Regions from separate parts of the Homo sapiens genome. Here regions 2, 3, 4 and 5 are each linked to region 1. The links are contacts of gene promoters, found by promoter capture Hi-C in human tissues and cell types (Jung and others, 2019). All regions are on one chromosome and are shown on one strand. The core of a region is centred on a gene start or on the middle of the fragment in contact, and the rest is flanking DNA. Distances in the headings are between cores, read along the strand shown. Region 1 holds the start of LAMC3 (laminin subunit gamma 3). Region 2 holds the start of FUBP3 (far upstream element binding protein 3). Region 3 overlaps FUBP3 (far upstream element binding protein 3). Region 4 holds the start of PRDM12 (PR/SET domain 12). Region 5 has its middle 50 kb from the start of EXOSC2.

What was found. The method cuts DNA at HindIII sites, captures the fragments that hold promoters and counts their contacts. A contact is called where the count stands out against the background at its distance.
Region 2: the fragment with the promoter of FUBP3 here is called in contact with the fragment with the promoter of LAMC3 in region 1 in 1 of the 25 tissues and cell types used here (lymphoblastoid cells).
Region 3: a contact is called between a fragment that was not itself captured here and the fragment with the promoter of LAMC3 in region 1, in 2 of the 25 tissues and cell types used here (adrenal gland and dorsolateral prefrontal cortex).
Region 4: a contact is called between the fragment with the promoter of PRDM12 here and the fragment with the promoter of LAMC3 in region 1, in 1 of the 25 tissues and cell types used here (pancreas).
Region 5: a fragment that was not itself captured here is called in contact with the fragment with the promoter of LAMC3 in region 1 in 5 of the 25 tissues and cell types used here (adrenal gland, aorta, dorsolateral prefrontal cortex and 2 more).

What each region holds. Positions count from the first base shown.
Region 1 is chr9:131,007,249-131,011,403 of GRCh38, forward strand. LAMC3 (laminin subunit gamma 3) reads left to right here and starts at 1,926. Exons shown (of 28, transcript NM_006059.4): 1 at 1,926-2,339. The coding sequence starts at 1,967. The HindIII fragment of the contact is 10,117 bases long and covers 1-4,155 here.
Region 2 is chr9:130,577,134-130,581,288 of GRCh38, forward strand. FUBP3 (far upstream element binding protein 3) reads left to right here and starts at 2,444. Exons shown (of 19, transcript NM_003934.2): 1 at 2,444-2,631. The coding sequence starts at 2,548. LOC100272217 (a long non-coding RNA gene) reads right to left here and starts at 2,361. Exons shown (of 1, transcript NR_027440.1): 1 at 217-2,361. LOC124902286 (a long non-coding RNA gene) reads left to right here and starts at 2,707. Exons shown (of 2, transcript XR_007061818.1): 1 at 2,707-3,115; 2 at 3,526-4,155. RefSeq lists a silencer at 2,392-2,761. The HindIII fragment of the contact is 10,079 bases long and covers 1-3,895 here.
Region 3 is chr9:130,603,692-130,607,846 of GRCh38, forward strand. The region is part of intron 2 of FUBP3 (far upstream element binding protein 3); the gene reads left to right. Among named protein-coding and RNA genes, the nearest start is that of MIR6856, 21 kb to the right of the region's middle. The HindIII fragment of the contact is 5,498 bases long and covers 1-4,155 here.
Region 4 is chr9:130,662,262-130,666,416 of GRCh38, forward strand. It overlaps PRDM12 (PR/SET domain 12), which reads left to right and starts at 2,333. Exons shown (of 5, transcript NM_021619.3): 1 at 2,333-2,615. The coding sequence starts at 2,393. RefSeq lists enhancers at 775-1,616, 2,907-3,580. The HindIII fragment of the contact is 18,845 bases long and covers 1-4,155 here.
Region 5 is chr9:130,741,738-130,745,892 of GRCh38, forward strand. It overlaps a transcript of ABL1 not described here. Among named protein-coding and RNA genes, the nearest start is that of EXOSC2, 50 kb to the left of the region's middle. The HindIII fragment of the contact is 5,419 bases long and covers 1-4,155 here.

The DNA of each region.
Region 1 (4,155 bases), core at 676-3,175:
TCTGTCTCCTGAATTCAAGCGATTCTTGTGCCTCAGCCTTCCAAGTAGCTGGGATTACAGGTGTGCCACAATGCCTGGCTAATTTTTGTATTTTTAGTGGAGATGGGGTTTCACCATATTGCCCAGGCTGGTCTCGAACTCATGACCTCAGGTGATCTGCCTGCCTCAGCCTCCCAAAGTGCTGGGATTACAGGCGTGAGCCACCGCACCCAGCCAGAAAATGCCTATTGCTGGCATTGGTTTTCGTACTCTATCCTGTAGTCAGCCATCTTACGGAGCTCTTATTAATTTTAATAGTCTTAGTAGAATCTTTTAGATTTTCTAGATGTATGTTCAGGTAAGTAGAAGATATAAATATTTATATCTTTTAAGTTTTTTGTCTTATTGTATTAGCTAGAACTTCCAAAATAACCTTAGGTACCAGTGGTGATATCATATACTAACTCTACTTAGATATAGTTCTGAAATCTCTAACTTATTCCATGGGTCTATTCTGTAGTCCTTTCCACAACCGTATTGTTTTAATCATGTGTAAATAACTGGTAGTGAATCAGCCCACTACAGTTCATCTTGCTTCCAAAAATTTTCTTTCTTTCTTTTCTTTCTTTTTTTTTTTTTTGATGGAGTTTCTCTCTTGTTGCCCAGGCTGGAGTGCAATGGCATGATCTCAGTTCACTGCAACTTCTGCCCCCCGGGTTCAAACAATTCTCCTGCCTCAGCCTCCTGAGTAGCTGGGATTACAGGCACGCACCGCCACACCCAGCTAATTTTTGTGTTTTTAGTAGAGACGGGGTTTCACTATGTTGGCCAGGCTGGTCTCGAACTCCTGACCTCAGGTGATCTGCCTTCCTCAACTTCCCAAAATGCTGGGATTATAGGCGAGAGCCACCGCGCCAGGCCAGGAAATTTATTTCTATTTTCCTTAGAGTTCGTCTGGGAATGGCTGCCTTTTTTTTTTTTTTTTTTTCGAGACAGGGTCTGACTCTGTTGGCCAGGCTGGAGTGCAATGGCATGATCACAGCCCACTGCAGCCTAACCTCCCGGGCTCAAGGGATCCTTCCACCTCAGCCTCCCAGGTAGCTGGGACTACAGGCTTGTGCCATGACGCCGGGCTAATTTTTGTATTTTTTTGTAGAGATAGGGTCTCACTATTTTGCCCAGGTTGGTCTCGAACTCCTGGCCTCAAGTTATCCTTCCGCCTCCACCTCCCAAAGTGCTAGGATTACAGGCGTGAGCCACCGCGCACGACCTGGCTGCTAAATTTTATCGAATGACTTCTCTCCCTCGATTTGCTAATGTTAATAAATGGGGAGTAAAGGGGGCATTTATGGGGGTTGGGGCAGAAGACAAGGAAGCCCTCTCTGAGGTGACATTTGTGATAAGACCAGGTACCCTTGTCACAAATGTCAGGTTAGAATCTCTTTGCTGTGGGGACAGAGCGCAGCCGGCAGCAGGAGTGCTTTTCAGGGTTAAGGGCGACAGGAGCTATGCGGAGCCATCTCACAACCCTGTCCAGGGCACACTTTATTGCTAGGAGGAGATGCGCAAACGGTAGCGATCAGTTAGAGATAGATCCTCTTGTCCCCTTTTATCTCAGGACTCCAAGGCACTGCTGAACAGTTTCTGTTTAATGAGCAGCCATTGAAGCCTCCCAATGGCGAGAATGAGCCTGCATCTTTACCGACCCCACTCCACAGACGAGGAAACTGAGGCTCAAAGAGGCCCGGGTCGCCTCTGGGGCAGACTCCCGAGCCGCGCACTGCCGGGCACGTCCAGCAGGTGGGAGTGGGCGCCCGGGGACGGCGCGGTCCCTGGTATTTTTAGTGGGGTGGGGCCGCCGCCGCCCGCCCCTCCCTCCAGCCTCCCCGCCCCGCAGGGGAAGGCGGGTCCTGGCGGCCAGCGCGCGGTCCGCGCCCACCCTAGCCGAGCGGGGCCGGCAGAGCGCGCGGCGTCGGTGCCCTTGACCATGGCGGCGGCTGCGCTTCTGCTGGGGCTGGCGCTGCTGGCACCGCGGGCGGCCGGCGCGGGCATGGGCGCGTGCTATGACGGCGCAGGGCGCCCGCAGCGCTGCCTGCCGGTGTTCGAGAACGCGGCGTTTGGGCGGCTCGCCCAGGCCTCGCACACGTGCGGCAGCCCGCCCGAGGACTTCTGTCCCCACGTGGGCGCCGCGGGCGCGGGGGCTCATTGCCAGCGCTGCGACGCCGCCGACCCCCAGCGCCACCACAACGCCTCCTACCTCACCGACTTCCACAGCCAGGACGAGAGCACCTGGTGGCAGAGCCCGTCCATGGCCTTCGGCGTGCAGTACCCCACCTCGGTCAACATCACCCTCCGCCTAGGTAAGCGCGGGCTGGGGGCACCGCCACCGCACCCCGTGTCCCCACTCCACTGGGGGTCTGAGGCTGAGGCCTGAGCTGCTGTGCGCCCAGGTTGGGCTGCAGGACCCAGATATGGTGTTGGATGGAGGGGCTCAGAAATAGGAATTAGGCTGGGTGCGGTGGCTCACTCCTGAAATCCCAGCACTTTGGGAGGCCGAGATGGGAGGGTCGCTTGAGCCCAGGAGTTCAAGATCAGCCTGGGCAACGTAGTGAGATCCCATCTTTACAAAAAATAAAGAAAAATAGGCCGGGCGCGGTGGCTGACGTCTGTAATCCCAGCACTTTGGGAGGCCGAGGCGGGCGGATCACCTGAGGTCAGGAGTTCGAGACCAGCCTGGCCAACATGGTGAAAACCCGTCTCTACTAAAAATAGAAAATTTGGCCGGGCGTGGTGGTAGGTGCCTGTAGTTCCAGCTACTCAGGAGGCTGGGGCAGGAGAATCGCTTGAACCCGGGAGGTGGAGGTTGCCGTGAGCCGAGGTCGCACCACCGTTCTCCAGCCTGGGCAACAGAGCTAACTCCGTCTCAAAAAAAAAAAAAAAAAAAAAAAAAAGCTGGGCGTGGTGGTGCACACCTATGGTCCCAGCTACTCAAGAGGCTGAGGCAGGAGGATCACTTAAGACTGAGAGGTTGAGGCTGCATGAAATATGATAGTGCCACTGTGCTACAGCCTGGGCTACAGAGTGAGACCTTATCTCTTAATAAAAAGAAAGAATGAAAAAAAGAAGAAAAAAAAACAGGACCTGTACCCCTAGATAGCCAGAAGGATAGACTGAGGGGTGCCCCGTGGGGCGGGAGAGGCAGGGAGTCACTTGCTGAGCTTTGGTTCTAGGTTGCAATTATAATCCCCTGTAATGGTTTTCCATCCTAGACCAGAACTGTTGGGGAGGTGACACACCAAGGACTGAATTGGTCACCCTCTAGGGCAGGGGCTCCTGATCTTGGGTCTTCTGGTCAACTTCAGGTATTCAGTGGACCCCTGAAGCTGCCTGCAGTCCTCGGGTGGGTTCTGGAAGATAGAAGCTGTGATGTTCATCACTGCACAGGCAAAGTTTAACCCTCTGGGGAGGAGGACTAAGTTTCTTCGTGCTGCTGGGCAGCTGCGCCCGGTGGCATGGCCTCTCTGCCCTGCTCATGACTTGCCGAGGTGCAGAAGCCCTTAGATCTCCAGGAATCAGAATCTGGAGTCTGGACCCAGCCCCGGTTCTCAGCCCCTGCCCCCACTGCAGGGAGCTGGAATGCTCTCTCCTCCCTCCGTGTTCAGCCCGATTCCCATGTCCTCTGTGGCCGGGTAAGCGCCAAGTGTCTTTCCTGTTGCAGCCTCCACTGCCCTTTCAGGAGGGGCTGGTATCACTGGTTAGACTCCCTTATCTTCGAGGTCAGCCTCCCAAAGCTTTGAAAACTCAAATTATTTTTATAACTCATTTTTGCTGCTAAACCTGACCTGAGGCTATTTATAAGCTATGTTTATGCTAGTGAGAATGAATATTCATTCGCTTTGCTACTGAAATCTCATTTGAGTACAGCCGGCAGCCCCAGACCCCACTGGGGGTATTAGCACAATATATGGTATAAGGCCTGCATCGTCTTTCTAAAAGCTGAAAAATGTTCAATTCCCAAACACATTTGGAGCCTAGGAGTTTGGATTAGGGATGATGGGACTGTATCCCATGTTTCAGCTGAGAAAATTGAGGCTCAGAGAGGTTGTTTTGCCCAAAGGCACAGAGCTGCTAAGTGAGCATCTGAGCGTGGACATCCATGGACATCAGAGGTCAGAG
Region 2 (4,155 bases), core at 1,194-3,693, 430 kb before region 1:
GTAATCTGCCCGCCTCGGCCTCCCAAAGTGCTGGGATTACAGGTGTGAGCCACCACACCCGGCCGAATTTTTCTTTTTTAACCTCTAAGAATCTTTCCCTGTCTTCTTTGGACAAGATCATCTCATTCATTCATTTCACAAATACTGAGAGCCAACCAAATGCCAGGCATTGGTGCTAGGTGGTAGGGAGAGCAATTAACAAGACAAACATAGACCTTATGTCAGCAGAGGCTTTATTCTAGTGGAAAAGGCAGACAATAAACATATAACTGCATGATGATTTAAAAGCAACTGTGATAAGTGCTATAACAAGATGATGAAGTCTAGGGTGTTAGTAGAACAATTAACAGTGAACATGACAAGCTCAGGGTCATCTTCATCTTCTGTGCCCCCAAATATAAGTGACCTGCTCAAAGTTAACCAGTAAAAGAGGGGAAAACAAAACTGTCTTCCTACTTAGGGATTCTCTGGTCTTTGGACCAAACCTTGGAATACAACTTACATTTGGGCCAATAGCCTTGTTTTCCCTATTTATACTCATAGGGAAAGCCAGCTGGAATATGCATGAATCAACATTCTAACCTCAGAGATATATTTCTAAAATTCAAAACAGAAGTTATCACTGATACTTGGTTCAGCTGAACGACTGTGTTCATGAAAGTTGATACCATTGCCATTCCTTGATTTTTACAAGCATAGCAAACTTAAAACGCTCAACACACCCAGAATGGGCAATAAATGGATGTGTTGGCATGGTCCTCCTCGTGCTGGCACTTCAACAACACAGCAAGCTATGTACTTTTGAACAGGGGTTGGAACATTTTTTCTGAAAGCAATCTTCAATCTTGCAATTTTGCCAAATTCTTTTATTTTGCCATAATCTATGAATTATTCTACTTGGCATTATTGAATGCAAAATAAGTTTACTAAGCACCTACTATGTGCCACACCCTAGGGATACAGGGAAAAATAAGTCTCTGCTCTAAAGTAACTCACAGTCTAGGAAAGAAGTCATTAACAAATAAATAACTATACTTTGGTTATTGGTCAAGTATTCCTCATACTTCTTTAGAATGCCCAAAGCTCTCTTGGCATAATGACACAGTGAGGGGTGAGGGTGGGGTCATCAAGGAAAGTTATATGGGACTTTTTTCCCCAAGAAAGGGTCTTGCTCTGTCACCCACGCTGTACTGCAGTGGCGTGATCATAGCTCACTGCAGCCTTGACCTCCAGGGCTCAGGTGATCCTCCCACTCCAGCCTCCCAAGTAGCTGGGACTACAGGTGTTTGCCACCACGCCCAGCTAATTATATTTTTTGTAGAGACGGGGTCTCACTATGCTGCCTAGGCTGGTCTTGAATTTCTGGGCTCAAGAGTTCTGCCTGCCTTGGCCTCCCAAACTGCTAAGATTACAGGCGTGAGCTACCGCACCCGGCCCGTATTGGATTTTATTTATTTCCTTTTCTTGGTGCTCATCCTCCTTCACAACTTCAAGATGGGCATAAGATGTTTGACAACATGGTTCTTCATTAAGTCCAACTCCTTATCATAATAGGGCTTGGGAAATATTAAACACGAGGGCAATCGTGCTAACACAAAAATGGGCGCCCCCTAAACCTTGTTACTTGTTTGCTCACTTATAAGAAGAGCCAACTCAAAGGCTCAACTGAATTCTAGCACTAAGATTCCTTCCTTGCTGTAGAAGATCTGTACCTGGTCACTTCCATTAAAGTTACATAGGCGTTCCAAGAAGCCTCCTGCAATACAGTTGTGACTCAGCCGGTATGGGAGTAATGACGGTCCTGTGGTATTTCCTGCACCCCCAGAGTCCCAGAGTTTGTTAAGGACCGTGTAAGAGGACACCACGCTGGCTTTTCAGTGGGCGCGTCTCTCCTGGGGGCATCACCAGACAACCCCAGGCGGAAGTGGCGGTGGCCCATCCTCATGCAAACTGCAGTGTAAGAACTGGGGCCCGGGACTCCTCGCAAATGTGGGACACTGACATTCTGTGATGCTGTCCCAATGCCCTTTCAAAGCGCTCAGCCCCCAAATTCCCAACCAACAGCCATTTCAGGGAGGGGCTACCCAGGACCAGGCTTTTGATGAACCACGACTGTTCGGGGTGCCGTCTTGGGAGAGCCACGTCAGTCCCTCTGAGATTCCAAACGGCCGACAGCGGACACCTCGGGACCACATCCAAGCCTCGGGGACCTGTCAAGACGCCATCGACGGTCCTGGACCAAATCCCGCCCGGGAAGGGAAGGGTCGCGACCGGACCCTGGAGACCCACGGCTGCCTGGCGATCTGAGCCCACCCCGGCGCTGCCGTCCCGCCCCCACTTCCGATCGGTCGAAGGTCACGTGCCCTGACCCCGCCCCGCAGACGCGACTCCTCCAGCTGCGAGCGTCCCGGCTTTCCCTTCCGCCGGAAGTAGGGCGACTTTCCTTTTCCGGCTACGGGTCCCCAAGCGGAGCGGGAGGCCGGACCGGGGAGCCGAGCGGCGGCGTCGGCGGCGTCGGCGGCGGCGGCGACGGCGGCGGGGGCGGTAATGGCGGAGCTGGTGCAGGGGCAGAGCGCTCCTGTGGGGATGAAGGCCGAGGGCTTCGTGGATGCCCTGCACCGGGTCCGGCAGGTACGGGCGCAGCCGGCTGGCAGGAGCACGAGATCCCGAGGCGGGGCCTGGCGGGCGGGGAAGAGGGGTTCGGGCCTGGGGGGCGGGAGGCAGCCTGAACCGACGTCTCAGCCGGGCCGGGCCGTTCCGTGGAGTTCCTACAGCCGGGAGGAGCCGGGGGGATAAGGCGCCACTGCGAGGCCCAGGCCCGGCCTGTCGGGCGGGTCTCCCAGGTGCCTGAAGTCGCTGGGAAAGGGTTTGCTTAGAGCGTCTGGCCCCATCGTGCCCCAGCGGCCAGCCTGGACCCACAGTGTAGCTAGCGCGGGGTTCTGAACCTCGCGAGGGGAGGGGTCCGGGAAGCCCACGGGGAGGATCTGGGTGTAGACATAAAGCAGCTGTCTGACGCCCAGTAGCTTGTTAAAACTTGGGGAACATCGTCTTTAGACTTTCTGTTGAGTAGAAGGAACTCGAGGGCATCTTATATGTGAGGGTGCTCTTTGGAGAGGTGAGAGAGGGAGGTGTTACATGTGTGGGGGTGGTCCCCAAGATGTAGAAATTTCTCATGGCAAGCTTGCCTCTACTGGGGAGAATGATATGGCCTCATTCCGACATTGAAACTTTACTGTCTGACAATGTCGTGCATTTAATCAAAGTTAAATTAACTGGGTTTTAGAAGGCTCCAGGCTTCCCCAGAGAGTGAATATGGGACCTGCCAAAAATACTTACTGGCTTCTGGCATGGTACTTAGAACAGAACGTGTTCTTCATTTGTATCTAAAACTTACTTACAAGTCAGCCCTAACACTTCAGCTTCCTCGGTTAAGTGTCTTATGTCCTCCTCTCTTCTTATGTAATTGTAAGCGCACTGATACTTTAAAAGTTGGGCTATAACTAATTACTGCTTGATTCCTAACAGAAAGCCACAGGAGTCATTGTATTAGAAGAAGGTCTTCACTCGGGCGCTTGAAGATATGGTCTTTACATCTCTTTCCAGTATTCCAGGGGAGGGAACCCTACCTGTTTCCCTGATAACTGACTTTTCATGTTATATATTGATGCTCCTATAGACATTATATTGGATCCCAGAACTTTCCAAACCTGTGGTTCCACCTAAAATTTTATCTGATGAATTGTTACTTTACTGCCTAGCTGCCAACCAGTACAGTAGTGAGTATCCATCTTACTTAGACTTCAGATCCACCCATGGCTGTAATGGATGAACATGCCACCCAGCTCCCCTTCCACCACTCTGCTTGCTGGCGTGTTACAGTGCTCTCCTCTACAGTACAGGGTCCTGAACCTTGTTTCTCACTGGCTACTAATATGTAATGGCTTTCGCTCTGTGCTGATGTGTGACAGTCACCTTGTTGGCCTTCTATGTCCGGGAAGAATTATAGTCACTGCCCTAAAGGGCTCAGATCCTCAGTTTGCAGAAGGCCTGTAGTTGAACATAAAGTGAATTTTGAACCATTGAGAAGACATTCCGCTTCTCTTGAGCCAGTGGTTGAACTCATATTCTTGGACAACCTGCTCCAGAGGGAGACCC
Region 3 (4,155 bases), core at 1,131-3,630, 400 kb before region 1:
TGTGACAAAAATATAACTCGAGCTCATGTACAATGCCTGTTACATTCTTCGCAGCTGTTAATAGGGAAGAAAAGTAGTTGCCAAATTAAAAGAGGATTCATAGGTTTCCAGAGTTCAACTTGATGGTAGAACCTCTCTCGAATACAGTTTGGGAGTGTCACAAAACTAAACATGCACTTACGCACAGTCCACAACTGCACTGTTGGGCATTTATCCCCAAGAAAGGAAAATGTTCACACAAGAGCCTGTTCACATAGCAGCTTTATTCATAATAGTCCCAAACTGAAAACAGCCCACGTGTCCTTCAACTGATGAATGGTTCTGCTTGCGATACAGCCATACCGTGGAATATCACTCAGCGGTAAAACGGAACAAATGCTGAGTACATCCAGCAACTTGGATCAATCTCCAGGGAATTATGCCGAGTGCCAGAAACCAATCCCAAAAAACTACATACTGCATGATCCCCTTTATGTAACCTTTTGGGAACGGAGAACAGATTAGTGGTTGCCAGTGGTTAGGGATTGAGTCGGAGGAGAGGGGGTCACCTAAGATCACAGCTAGAAGGGAACCTGAAGCTTAAACTCCTTATTGTTGTAGATAAGGAAACCAGTGTCTCTGAAGAAGTAAGTGGTTTGACCAAGGCCAGATAGATACATGATAAGTGACAGAAGGGAGGTTGAACCTGGGTCTCTGTCTCATGTGCCATAATAGTATAGTACTTAAACATGTGGACTTCAGAGTCTGACAGATCAAGGTTTGAATCCCAGCTTTGCTAGTCATTAGCTGTTTGACCTTGGGCAAGTTCCTTAACGTCTCTGAGCCTGTGTTTCCTCATCTGTACAATGGACCTGATGATACCTGCCTCATCAGATTATCATGAGGGTTATATCATGTTATTTTCAAGCTTTAAGAAATACTACTCCCGGGCCTGGCATGGTTGCTCATGCTTGTAATCCCCTTTGGGAGGCCAAGGCAGACAGATCAACGAGGTCAGGAGATTGAAACCATCCTGGCCAACAAGGTGAAACCCCGCCTCTATTAAAATACAAAAAAATTAGCTGGGCATGGTGGTGCGCGCCTTTAGTCCCAGCTACTCGGGAGGCTGAGGCAGGGGAATCACTTGAACCCAGGAGGTGGAGATTGCAGTGAGCCGAGATCGTGCCACTGCACTCCAGCCTGGCGACAGAGCAAGACTCTGTCTCAAACAAAAAAAAAAAAAAAGAAAGAAATACCACTCCCAATGTGAGAAAAACTGTTTCCATCAGAACTAGTTAGTACAGACATATTAAAACACATATGTGACTGAAATGAAAGTTTTATGAAATACATTACCCTTATTATATATGGTACATTCTGTTTTCTATTTCATTTTTATTAATAAAGCTGGTTGTGACCCCCTATATTGATTTCATGACACTGGCGTAAATGAAAGTAAAGCTTAGGGCTATGAATATACTATCATAGAATTCTTTTTCCTCTTAGGCTCTTGAGGAGAAGGTGCAGGGCCCAACACGTCCCTGGAGGCTAGGGTAGGCCCCCTCATCTGTTGCCTTCTGCCTTCCCTGCTAGACTGTAAGCTCCCTGAGGGCAAAGGTGGCTTTGTTGACTGTTGTATCCTCAGGTCCTGTCACAGTGCTCAGCACCTGGAAGGCGCTGACTTGTGAGATGAAGAATGATCAAGAGAGTTAATAGCACAAAATTAAACAGTGATAAGTGTTGAAACCCACAAAATTAAAGGACAGGGGAAGATGAAGGGGTACAGAGTTTGCATGGGCACAGGCCCCTCGCCTGCATGCCACTCTGAGGGCTTGGGTGCAGTGTGATCGCACCTTCCTCTTCAGTAAGATGGGAATGGCAGTGACAGTAGCTGCCTCAAAGGTGGGTTCTTGTAGGACCAAGTGGGTTCACGCAGGTGAGGTGCCCAGGAAAGCACCTAGTGTGGCTGGGGGTGGTGGTCTTTCCACTCACAGAAGCTTACAGTAGACTACAAGTAAGAGTGATGTGATTGGCTGGGCACGGTGGCTCACACCTGTAATCCCAGCACTTTGGGAGGCCAAGGCAGGCGGATCACCTGATGTCAGGAGTTTGAGACCAGCTTGGCCAACATGGTAAAACCCCATCTCTACTAAAAGTACAAAAATTAGCCAGGCATGGCGGCACACACCTGTAATCCTGGCTACTTGGTAGGCTGAAGCAGGAGAATCGCACGAACCCGGGAGGCGGAGGTTGCAGTGAGCCGAGATCGCGCCGCTGCACTCCAGCCTGGGAGACAGAGCGAGACTCTGTCTCAAACAACAACAACAACAAAAAAGAGTGACATTATTGAGATAAACTTGAATTTACTTTCACTTTTTAAAAAATAATTTGCAAAATTAATAAATTATGCTTGCCAAAGGACTTTCAGCTGAACTCAGCATGTCAGTGTTTTGTGGCCCTGGAGCAAGAGTTGCTGCCTAGAACACAGGAAGCCTTTGTAGTGTCCCTGGGGGAAAAGCTTTCTAAAAACGCCCTGAATCCTCACCGCTAAGTGTGTGTTACTGACCTGAGCTGGGGTGTGGAAAGCCATTGGTCAGTCAGAGGAGACTGCAAATCCAAAGAAGAGGCAGAGGAGGGGGGATTGTTTTCAAAATCTAAAAAGGAAGATTTGGGTTATTTGTTTTTACAGTTATAAAAACTGGTATTCCTCTCTCCCCACCCCCCCCCAACAGACTCACTCACCTGCCTCTGGCCAGTGGTTCCGTGTGGGTGCCAGCCCGTGCTGGCTGTGCTGTCGTGAAGGAGGAATTGGCATTTTTGTTCCTTGTGCTGGGGTGGGAGTGGGGGTATAACTATTAAAGCTGATGTGGCCGGGCGCGGTGGCTCACGCCTGTAATCCCAGCACTTTGGGAGGCTAAAGTGGGCGGATCACCTGAGGTCGGGAGTTCGAGACCAGCCTGACCAACATGGAGAAACCCCGTCTCTACTAAAAATACAAAATTAGCCGGGCGTAGTGGCGCATGCCTGTAATCCCAGCTACTCGGGAAGCTGAGGTAGGAGAATCGCTTGAACCCAGGAGGCAGAGGTTGTGGTAAGCCGAGATCACGCCTTTGCACTCCAGCCTGGGCAAGAAGAGCGAGACTCTGTCTCAGGAAAAAAAAAAAGCTGATGTGTATTGCAAAGTTGCATGTATTTCCCAGTGCAGTTTTGTTTCTTTTGGAGGAGAAAAAAAAAATGAAATCTTTTTTTCTTCACTAATAGGGAAAAATGTGTCTGATCACCTTTTTTTGTGTTATTGTTTGTTTGATTGATTGATTTTTAAGATTGTTCTGCTCTGTCACCCAGGCTGGAGTGCAATGACACGATCCCAGCTCCCTGCAACTTCCACCTCCCCGGTTCATTGTGCATCAGCCTCCCGAGTAGCTGGGATTACAGATGTGCACCACCACACCCAGCTAATTTGTGTATTTTTTTTTTTTTTACTAGAGACAGGGTTTTGCCATGTTGGCCAGGCAGGTCTCGAACTCCTGGCCTCAAGTTATCTGCCTGCCTTGGCCTCCCAAAGTGCTGGGATTACAGGCATGAGTGACAGCACCTGACCTGACCTCCTTTTTTTTTTTTTTTAAGATTATTATTAAAATTGGCAGAGTATTACTCTTCAGAAAGAATTTATGATATCGTAGGATGACTCACAGCCCAGGCAGTTCGTATTATATAGTGCACAAGGGAAACGAGAACTACACCTGTATATGCTGGAATTGCTCCAACGGGACCTTTAGAAGCAAGAAGATGCATTGTCAACCAGCACACACCATTAGTGGAAACAGGACTGATTTTACCCAGCATTTTTCCTTTTTTACAGGAAAATGAGTGTAGTTCCATTCAATTGAATATGATAGGTGTTCCCATCTGCCTCCTTAGTGTGACCCCTCCTCATTGCGAAGACTGAGGAGAGGTTCCTGTTCCTGGAGTTGGACATAGAAGTTGGCCATATGAGTACCCAGCGCCCCTGATCTAACTGCTGGTTTTCATTTTTAGGCAGCAAATGGGAATGTTCCGAAGGGAATGAAACTGCAATCACATGTTTCAGCCTTGGGTGGACTCCAGCATTTGCATGGAGGAGGGAGATGATTTATCCTTCCTAAGCATCTGCCAGCTCAGAGTTGACTCTGGACT
Region 4 (4,155 bases), core at 1,083-3,582, 340 kb before region 1:
GGCTCCTGGCAGCGCTCCCCGACGTCGTCTCCCTCGCTCCTAGCACTTTGTCCTCTCCACCTAGGTCTTCCCAGAAGCCAAGAAGTAGGCCCCGGTGAGGCTCCCCTGCAGGAGCCATCGGACTCCATACGCCCCCTCAGACTCGAGCTCTGGCCAGGGAGCCGATGCGACCCACAAGCTGCGTCGAAAAATGAGTGGAGGGTTCGGCGACCCTAACCCACCTCCCTCCTCAGCAGCGCTGCCCTCTGCTGGCGCCCTGCCCAACGGTCCTGCCTTCTGCCAGGTGTGCCCTTCCTTGGGCTCCAGCCTCGGGCGGACCCGGACGCAGGGTCTGAAGGCCAGCTACCGCCGCCTTCCTCCCTTTGCGTCCCAACGGGGACGGGGGATGCCGGAGACTACTGGCAGGAACTGGGGACCAGGGGTCTGGAGTCTGGACGCCAGGTGTGAGACCCTCTTAGCCAAGGCGCGTCCGGGTGGTGGAGGGGCGTCTATGCCAACAGGCGTTTGGACAGGGTCTCGCTCATGGGAGGTCAGCTCGCTGTTCTTCCACCCAAGTCCTCCGCGCTGAGGAGAAGGTCTAGGGAGTCCACACAGTCCAGCGGAGACTAATCCGTGAGCCTGACCCACGCCGAGAGGGTCCAGGCACCTCTGTTAGCGGCATCTGAAATTGTAGGCTGGTGATGGGAGCCAGAAGTGCGGCAGGTGGGGTGAGCTCCCTCACCCAGCATGTCAGGGCCTGGGGTCCGAGGCTTGAGGCTGACACTGGGGAGCCGCGAAGCCTGCAGGAAGCGGGGCCTTCCGCTGGGCTCAGCAGCTACCTGCTTCGGGAGAGGGGATCGCTGGGCTCCGAGGTGCCTCGAAACCGCCGCAAAGCAAGTCTGCTCCTGGGATGATGGGCAGGAGGAATAGAGGAGAGGAAGGGAAAGAAGAGAGAGGCAGAGGAGAAAGAAAGAACTAGGAGGCAAGAAGGAAGGGGCGCCGCAACGCCACCGGCTTCCCGAGGTTGCAGCTCAGCAAGGAGCCGGAAAGCCGGGCCGCAAGCCGAACCCGCACTGAGGCCTCTCGCGGAGCTGCCTGCAGTTTCTGAGGGACTTCGCTCTCAGGCACGCCTGCTCCCACCTAGGAAGGGTCTCGGGACCCCTTTCAATCCCCCTATATCCCGTAGGAAATTCTTTTCCCAGAGACAGGCTGCCAGGGCGATTCCTGTCCGCCCATCTCGACCCCCGACCTGGCCCCGCAAGGGCCGGGAGCCTGGCCTTCCATGAAGCTGTCTCAGGCCGGGACCAGCCCCAGCCCCGACGGCCGCTGCGGCCCCGCCTCGGCAGCCCCGTGAGCCCGCGGAGGAGTTTCGCACCCGACCGTGCACAGCGACCGAGTTGGCGCGGCCCGTATGAAGCGAAGCGCCGGCTTCAGCAGCGCAGTCTGAGCAGGGGATCCGCGTGGCAACTAGGGCTGCGCGCGAGCTCGGGGCGACTGTGGCGGCCCGGGGAGTGCAGGGCCGGAGAGGGAAGAGGACGCGGGCTCTGGCCGGGGAGGGAGAGCGGTGCAGGGCTGGGCCGGCCAGCCGGGGCAGCAAAGTAAAGGTGAACGCCGGGCTGGGCCAGGCCGGTGAACATAGATCAGGCCTGAGGGGAGCGCGGGGCCCGAAGCCAGGCGTCCCCTCTTGTCTAGCCTGGTCCCTGGAGTCCTAGAGAGCCTCGCCGCACCCCCTCCCCTTCTCCGTCCCCTCCTCTCCTCAGAGCCGGCTGAGCCTCCCTCCCTGCCCTGCGCTTCCCACGGGGAGAGAAGGAAAAACAGGAGGGGGGAGGAAGGACCAGGAAGGGGAGAGAGGAGTGGAGGGGTACTGTTTGGAGCGGTCCGCGCGCCCCCGCCCCTCGCGCTCTCGCGACGAAGGCTCCTCGAGCCCAGCCGGGTACAACAAGTCTGTCCTCCGACGTCAGGGGGTCATTAATAACCAATTAGGAGGGTCACTGCGGCTCCTATAAAGGCGCTGAGATTTTGCCAAGGGGAAGACGGCCCCGGCCGAGTGTGCGAGAGGCTAGCGCGCGCCTGAGCCCCTTGCTGCCGCTTCCCTGCAACCACCCGCCTCTCACCCACCCTGCACCCCCCGCACCCGCCTCCGCCTCCACCCGCGTCTCTCCACCCTCCGCGCCGCCTTTGCCATCTCTACAGATTTCACCATCTCTCTTCCCCTCTCCCCCTCGTTCGCTTTCCTCCCAGTCGCCCCCTCACCTCCCGCTCCCTCCTGCGTCCTCCTCCTCTCCGTCCTCCCCCTGCTCTGGTTCCTTCTCCATCGCAGCGCTCTCCTCTCGCCCCTTGGGCTCCCCTCTCGCCCGCCCACCTCCCCCGTCGGCCCGGCCGTCCCCCGGCGCCGGGGAGCTCCGGGCCGCCCATGATGGGCTCCGTGCTCCCGGCTGAGGCCCTGGTGCTCAAGACCGGGCTGAAGGCGCCGGGACTGGCGCTGGCCGAGGTTATCACCTCCGACATCCTGCACAGCTTCCTGTACGGCCGCTGGCGCAACGTGCTCGGGGAGCAGCTCTTCGAGGACAAGAGCCACCACGCCAGCCCCAAGACAGCCTTCACCGCCGAGGTGCTGGCGCAGTCCTTCTCCGGCGGTGAGTCCAGCCGTCGGAGCCCGGCGCAATCCCTCCTCCCGGCGACCCCCATTCCCGTCCTGGCGATGCGCGAGACGCGGCTGGGATACCCGGCCTCGCTGCTACTCGCGCCAACCTGGGCTCTCCCGGCGCTCGGTGCACCTCAGTTTCCCCATGGGCCAAACCAGGACGCGAGCCACCAAGCAGCTCCGCAGCCCACCCGGCTCAAGGACCGACCCCGGCGACCCCGTCGCTCGGCCCCGACGCCCCCGCCGGCCCCTCCCTTCCCCTCCTGCGCTTGAGCTGGCGGGTTCCCGGCATTTACAGCCTTACTAGGCGTGTAATAGCAGTTGACTCAAAAAGAAGGGGTTTTAAATTCATTTAGTTAACTTGGGCTTGACCCACGAAAGTTCCCACTTAAACCAAGAACTTTAAAAGGCAGCCGGGGCTGGGGAGGGGGTGGAGGGAGGGCGGGCGGGGAGAAAAAGCCGCGGGGAGAGCGAGGGAGAGAAAGAGAGAGCGAGAAAAGTTTCTTTTCTTTAAGATGTCTCAAGTTCTTATTCCTCATTCATCAACCCGCAAACAATATCTTTCCCTGGCTCTGGCATCTCTGCGCGTCGCCCTCTTTTCCCCCTTTACGATTTCTGTTCCTCTCTTAATTTACCGTGAAGACTAATTCCACTTCCATTCACGCTATGTCAACCATCTAATCCCCCTTTTTTGTAAGGGGAATTCCTCGGCCCCTTTTAAACAAGTCCCCTCCGCATTGAGCTACAATTTACTGCTACAGCATTCTTCCAGGGCTAATGAATTTAGAATTAGCAATTTCTTTCGAATGGAGCCGAATGAATGCGATCACTTTAACAGCGTGACAAATTGCCCGCCGCGCCGCAATGGACACCGTTTAACCCCCCCCTTTCAGCCGGCCCGCTCGCCGGGTATTTTCCCAGGTAGCTTAGAGGGGAACCTTGTAAGACATGGAGGCCGCCCTTGTGCGCCTCGCCGCTTCCAGCCCTGCCGCAGATGCCCGACAGGGGAACCCTCGGGGAGCTGGGGGCCGCCGCGGCTCCTCCCCGCCCAGAGAGATGACATCGGGGTTTGTCTGAGCCCGGGCGCCGCCCTCCCTGGCACCCCAGGGCCTGGGAGCAGAGAGGGACTCGGGCGCGCCCGGGGTCACACAGCGAGCGCAGAGCCTGGCCAGCTGCTGCCGGTGCTTCTTTGGCACCTCCAACACCTGCCAGCCCGAGGTCTGTCCCCAGCGCTGATCACGGCCCGGCTCCTCTGCCAGTGCCCAGAGCCTGGACACACAGTGGGCTCCCGGAAGCCGACTAGGCGAAAGAGTCTCCGGTTGGCCTTCACCTCCTTGCAGGACCTGGCCTCAGTTTCCCTGTGCATAAAACCGCTCGCTGCCGTTGGCTCATTAATTCTTAAACTTATCCGGGGCAGAGGATGGAAGAAGTTGCGAATGCTTTGAGAATTCGCGGAGAGACTAAAAACCCACTTCTAAAAATGATCCCCAACGCACCACTCGCTTTCCAGGGCACGGAGGGTCTCCAGGTTG
Region 5 (4,155 bases), core at 627-3,126, 270 kb before region 1:
GCCAGAGTGACTGATTTTGACCAAGACCTTTGGGTTGTACAGAAGGGGTGAGACCATACCTGTCCTCAAGCATTTCCAACCTAGTGTAGAGAAAAACAGGAGCAAGATAAGAACAACGTACTGAAAAGGAAATTGGATGAGGGCCTGGAAAAAGGGGTAAAGTGAGCTGGTTGGGATTGGTGAGTGCCACAGCTTCCTGCCCCTTAACAGATCAGTGCCATGGTGGCTGTGGTGTCCCTGGCCCAGACCTTCTCAGACAGGGCCTGGGTGCCCTTTACAGAGCAGTTGGGAAGAGAAGGGAACCTAGCCTTGTGACCTTTTGCTCCACAGACCTAGTCCTTTGTTGTGGTGCGAGGCTCAGTCGTCAGCCCACCGAGTCATGTATGTTCTCTGGTTGCCCCTGGTTTTGGCTGAACTCAAAGGATGGCTGTCTGTGAGGAGTACTGGTACTTTTTGCCACTTGTGTGCCCTAACTGTGGTGGATGCCATTTTGGGGATTATGCTCAGCAGTGAGTCACGTGAGATGCACACGTAGCTTTTCGGTGATTAATCCAGGTCAATGCCCTTACCCACATACTTCTGAGATGTACTGATGATGACTACATTTAAAGCTTTTTCTCCATTGGCTAGAAGTTGAGACCCATTTCAACAAAAGCACTTCCACCTCTCCTGAAGTGCATTGGGAAAACTGGAGGCCATTACTAGATTTACAGATGATGGGCCGTGCTTAAATAACCCATCTTAGCTAGACTCCAGGTTTCGTCACATATTCCCTACCTGTTGCTGCCATTGAGGGCTTTCTCTGTGCTAGGCACTACCAAATAATGCTTTGGTAACTTTGGTAATTTGGTAAACTTGGTAATTTGGTAAATTTGGTAATAAAGAGCCTTTATTCTAAAGTGCAAATCTAAGTTTGGGGTTCAGTAGCTCAAAACTCTCTGGTGGTTCCCATTATATAGAGTAACAGTCTTCATTTTAAAAAAGGTCATGTACCCTTATTAGAATTTTGTGAGCAAACAAATATGTGTGTATCGTATGTATGTTTATATGTATATCAGATGTACGCACATTAGTATGTGCTATTAAGATACTTTATATTATATAATATATACTGTATAATACCGTATATTATAAAGCATTCATAAAATGAAAATGAAGATGAAATAAATTGCATTGTAAATATTTAAAACTTTAAAAAATGCGTTACTGGTACAAAATTTTTTTGTTTCTAAAAAATTATTATTAATGAGCAATGGGACTGAATTTGCTTCACCGTTTTTTTAAAATCTTGATTTAACATTTGTCATACAGCTATTTTAACATCTTACACTAAAGTTGATTCTTGTTTTTTGGAGACAGAGTTTCGCTCTTGTTGCCCAGGCTAGAGTGCAGTGGCGTGATATCGGCTCACTGCAACTTCCATCTCCTGGGTTCAAGTGATTCTCCTGCCTCAGCCTCCCAAGTAGCCAGGATTACAGGCTTGCGCCACCATGCCCGGCTAATTTTTGTATTGTTAGTAGAGATGGGGTTTTGCCGTGTTAGCCAGGCTGGACTTGAACTCGTGACCTCAGGTGATCCACCCGTCTTGGCCTCCCAAAGTGCTGGGATTACAGGTGTGAGCCACCACGCCCAGCCTAGTTTATTCTTTTAATAGTGCTTGGGGGAGGTAGCCTCTAAGATGACCCCCAGTGATTCCCCACCTCCTGGTATTCCTGGCTCTTTTGCAAATGTCAATTCTAATTTGGTCCTAAGGTCTCTCTCTTGAGAGTGGCTATAGATTCTAGCCCTGCCCAGGAAAATAGGTTTGAATGCATTGGTCAGGTGAGACACAGAGCAGCACAGCAAGACACATGAAATAGCAGAAGTATTTTTATTACTTACTGATCCCAGAGAGGAGAGAGAGAGAATCCTGGGCCAAAACCTTTATTGGGAGTCCAGGGAGTTTCCCAAGTGGGTTTCCTAGGGCTATTATGTTACCGAAGCCAATAGTTCTAATTGATGGGTTTAAAGGGAGCAGGCACAAGCTTTGTGGGGGTCACGCTGTGATTGAGACATGGTCACTGTAGCATATTCATCTAGTACTTGTGGGGTCGGGGAACAAGAGGGGTGAGCCACATAGGCCCTATGTAGCTGTCCTGTAAAGAGGTAGGGGAGGTGGCCATCAAGAGGCATGGTGTTAGGCAGATGTCTGGAGTGGCCACATTGAGGGATTGGAAGCGGGTGTGTTTCTATGCTCCCTTAAGGATATTTTTGGAAACAACATGCTTGCTGCATACAAATATTCAAACATTTTATCTTTAAAACAAATTTTAGTACTGGTAACATTTATTAACTTTTTTTTTTTTCCTGTTCCCTAATTTGCTACCCAGCTTTTACATCAAAGCTCCTATCACAACCCTTCTTGTTTTTTTCTTTTTTTCCCTGAGACGGACTCGCTCTCTTTCGCTAGGCTGGGGTGCAGTGGCCACAATCTCGGCTCACTGCAACCTCTGCCTCCCGGGTTCAAGAGATTCTCCTGCCTCAGCCTCCCGAGTAACTGGGACTACAGGCGCATGCCACCATGCCCAGCTAATTTTTGTATTTTTAGTAGAGATGGGGTTTCACCGTGTTGGCCAGGATGGTCTCGATCTCTTGACCTCGTGATCCACCCGCCTCGGCCTCCCAAAGTGCTGGGATTACAGGGGTGAGCCACCACGCCTGGCCCCTTCTTGTTTTTGTAGCTTGTCACATGATGAATGCTTTTTACCCTGGGGGAGACCAAGACTTTGAGTAATAGTTTGCTTTTATAAGCCAGAATTTGTTCTACACATAGAAGGATAAAACTGTCTTTTCTGGCCAGGCGCAGTGGCTCACGCCTGTAATCCCAGCATTTTGGGGGGCCGAGGCAGGCGGATCACGAGGTCAGGAGATCGAGACCATCCTGGCTAATGTGATGAAATGCCATCTCTACTAAAAATACAAAAAAAAAAATTAGCCGAGCGTAGTGGTGGGCGCCTGTAGTTCCAGCTACTGGGGAGGCTGAGGCAGGAGAATGGCGTGAACCCAGGAGGCGGAGCTTGCAGTGAGCCAAGATCGCACCACTGCACTCCAGCCTGGGCGACAGAGTGAGACTCCGTCTCAAAAAAAAAAAAAAAAACAAAACTATCTTTTCTCTCTGGTTTCTTTGCTGTTCCTTTTCAGGAGAGAAATTACAATAGGATTGGTGGCCTAATGATGTAAGTGCCAAAGTTTCATTCGAGGTTTTGGGGTAGAATGTTTTTCAACTGTTTGCTTTTATCTGAGACAAAGTGGGCAAGGAATAAAGGTAGAGTGGTGAGAAGGGTGTTATCCCTTCCTGGGAACCTTTTTTTTTTTTTTTTTGAGGGGGGCAGAGTTTTGCTCTTGTTGCCCAGGCTGGAGGGCAATGGTGTGATCTCGGCTTACTGCAACCTCCACCTCCTGGGTTCAAGCGATTCTCCTGCTTCAGCCTCCCTAGTAGCTGGGATTACAGGCATGCGCCGCCACACCTGGCTAATTTTGTATTTTTAGTAGAGACAGGATTTCTCCATGTTGGTCAAGCTAGTCTTGAACTCCCGACCTCAGGTGATCTGCCTGCCTTAGCCTCCCAAAGTGCTGGGATTACAGGCGTGAGTCACTGTGCCCAGCCCTGGGAACCTTTTAATTGTCAACTGTGTAGGTGTTCATGCTGGCCTGCATAATAGAGCGCCTGCTGTTTGATTTTCAGTTTTCTGTAGAAGGAAAAAAAAAAATCAAACCAACAATAGCAAAACTCATGATACCTCCTGGTCTCTCTCTCCCTCTCCTCTGCTTGCATATTCTGGTCTATAACAGGAAATGGAACCTCCTGGAGTGAGGGGAAAATGACCTTCACATTTAGGTTTCTCACTCTAAAGTTATTTCTTAAATATTTTAGCCTGAGTTCTTTTAATAACAGACCTCAGCTCTAGTTCTTTGAAATGCATGTGGGAAAATGTTTATCAGTGTTGAAATCTGACATTTTTTTAATCTCATGAACTCCACAATTGTCTGATTATTAAAGTCCTGCTTACTTGACTGTGACTAAAATTCTACTTTCAGAAGAGTAGAATGTACCCCTACCAAATTGAAGATCAAATAAATAAAGTGGACCTGGAAAAGTAAGGCTTGCCATTGTGT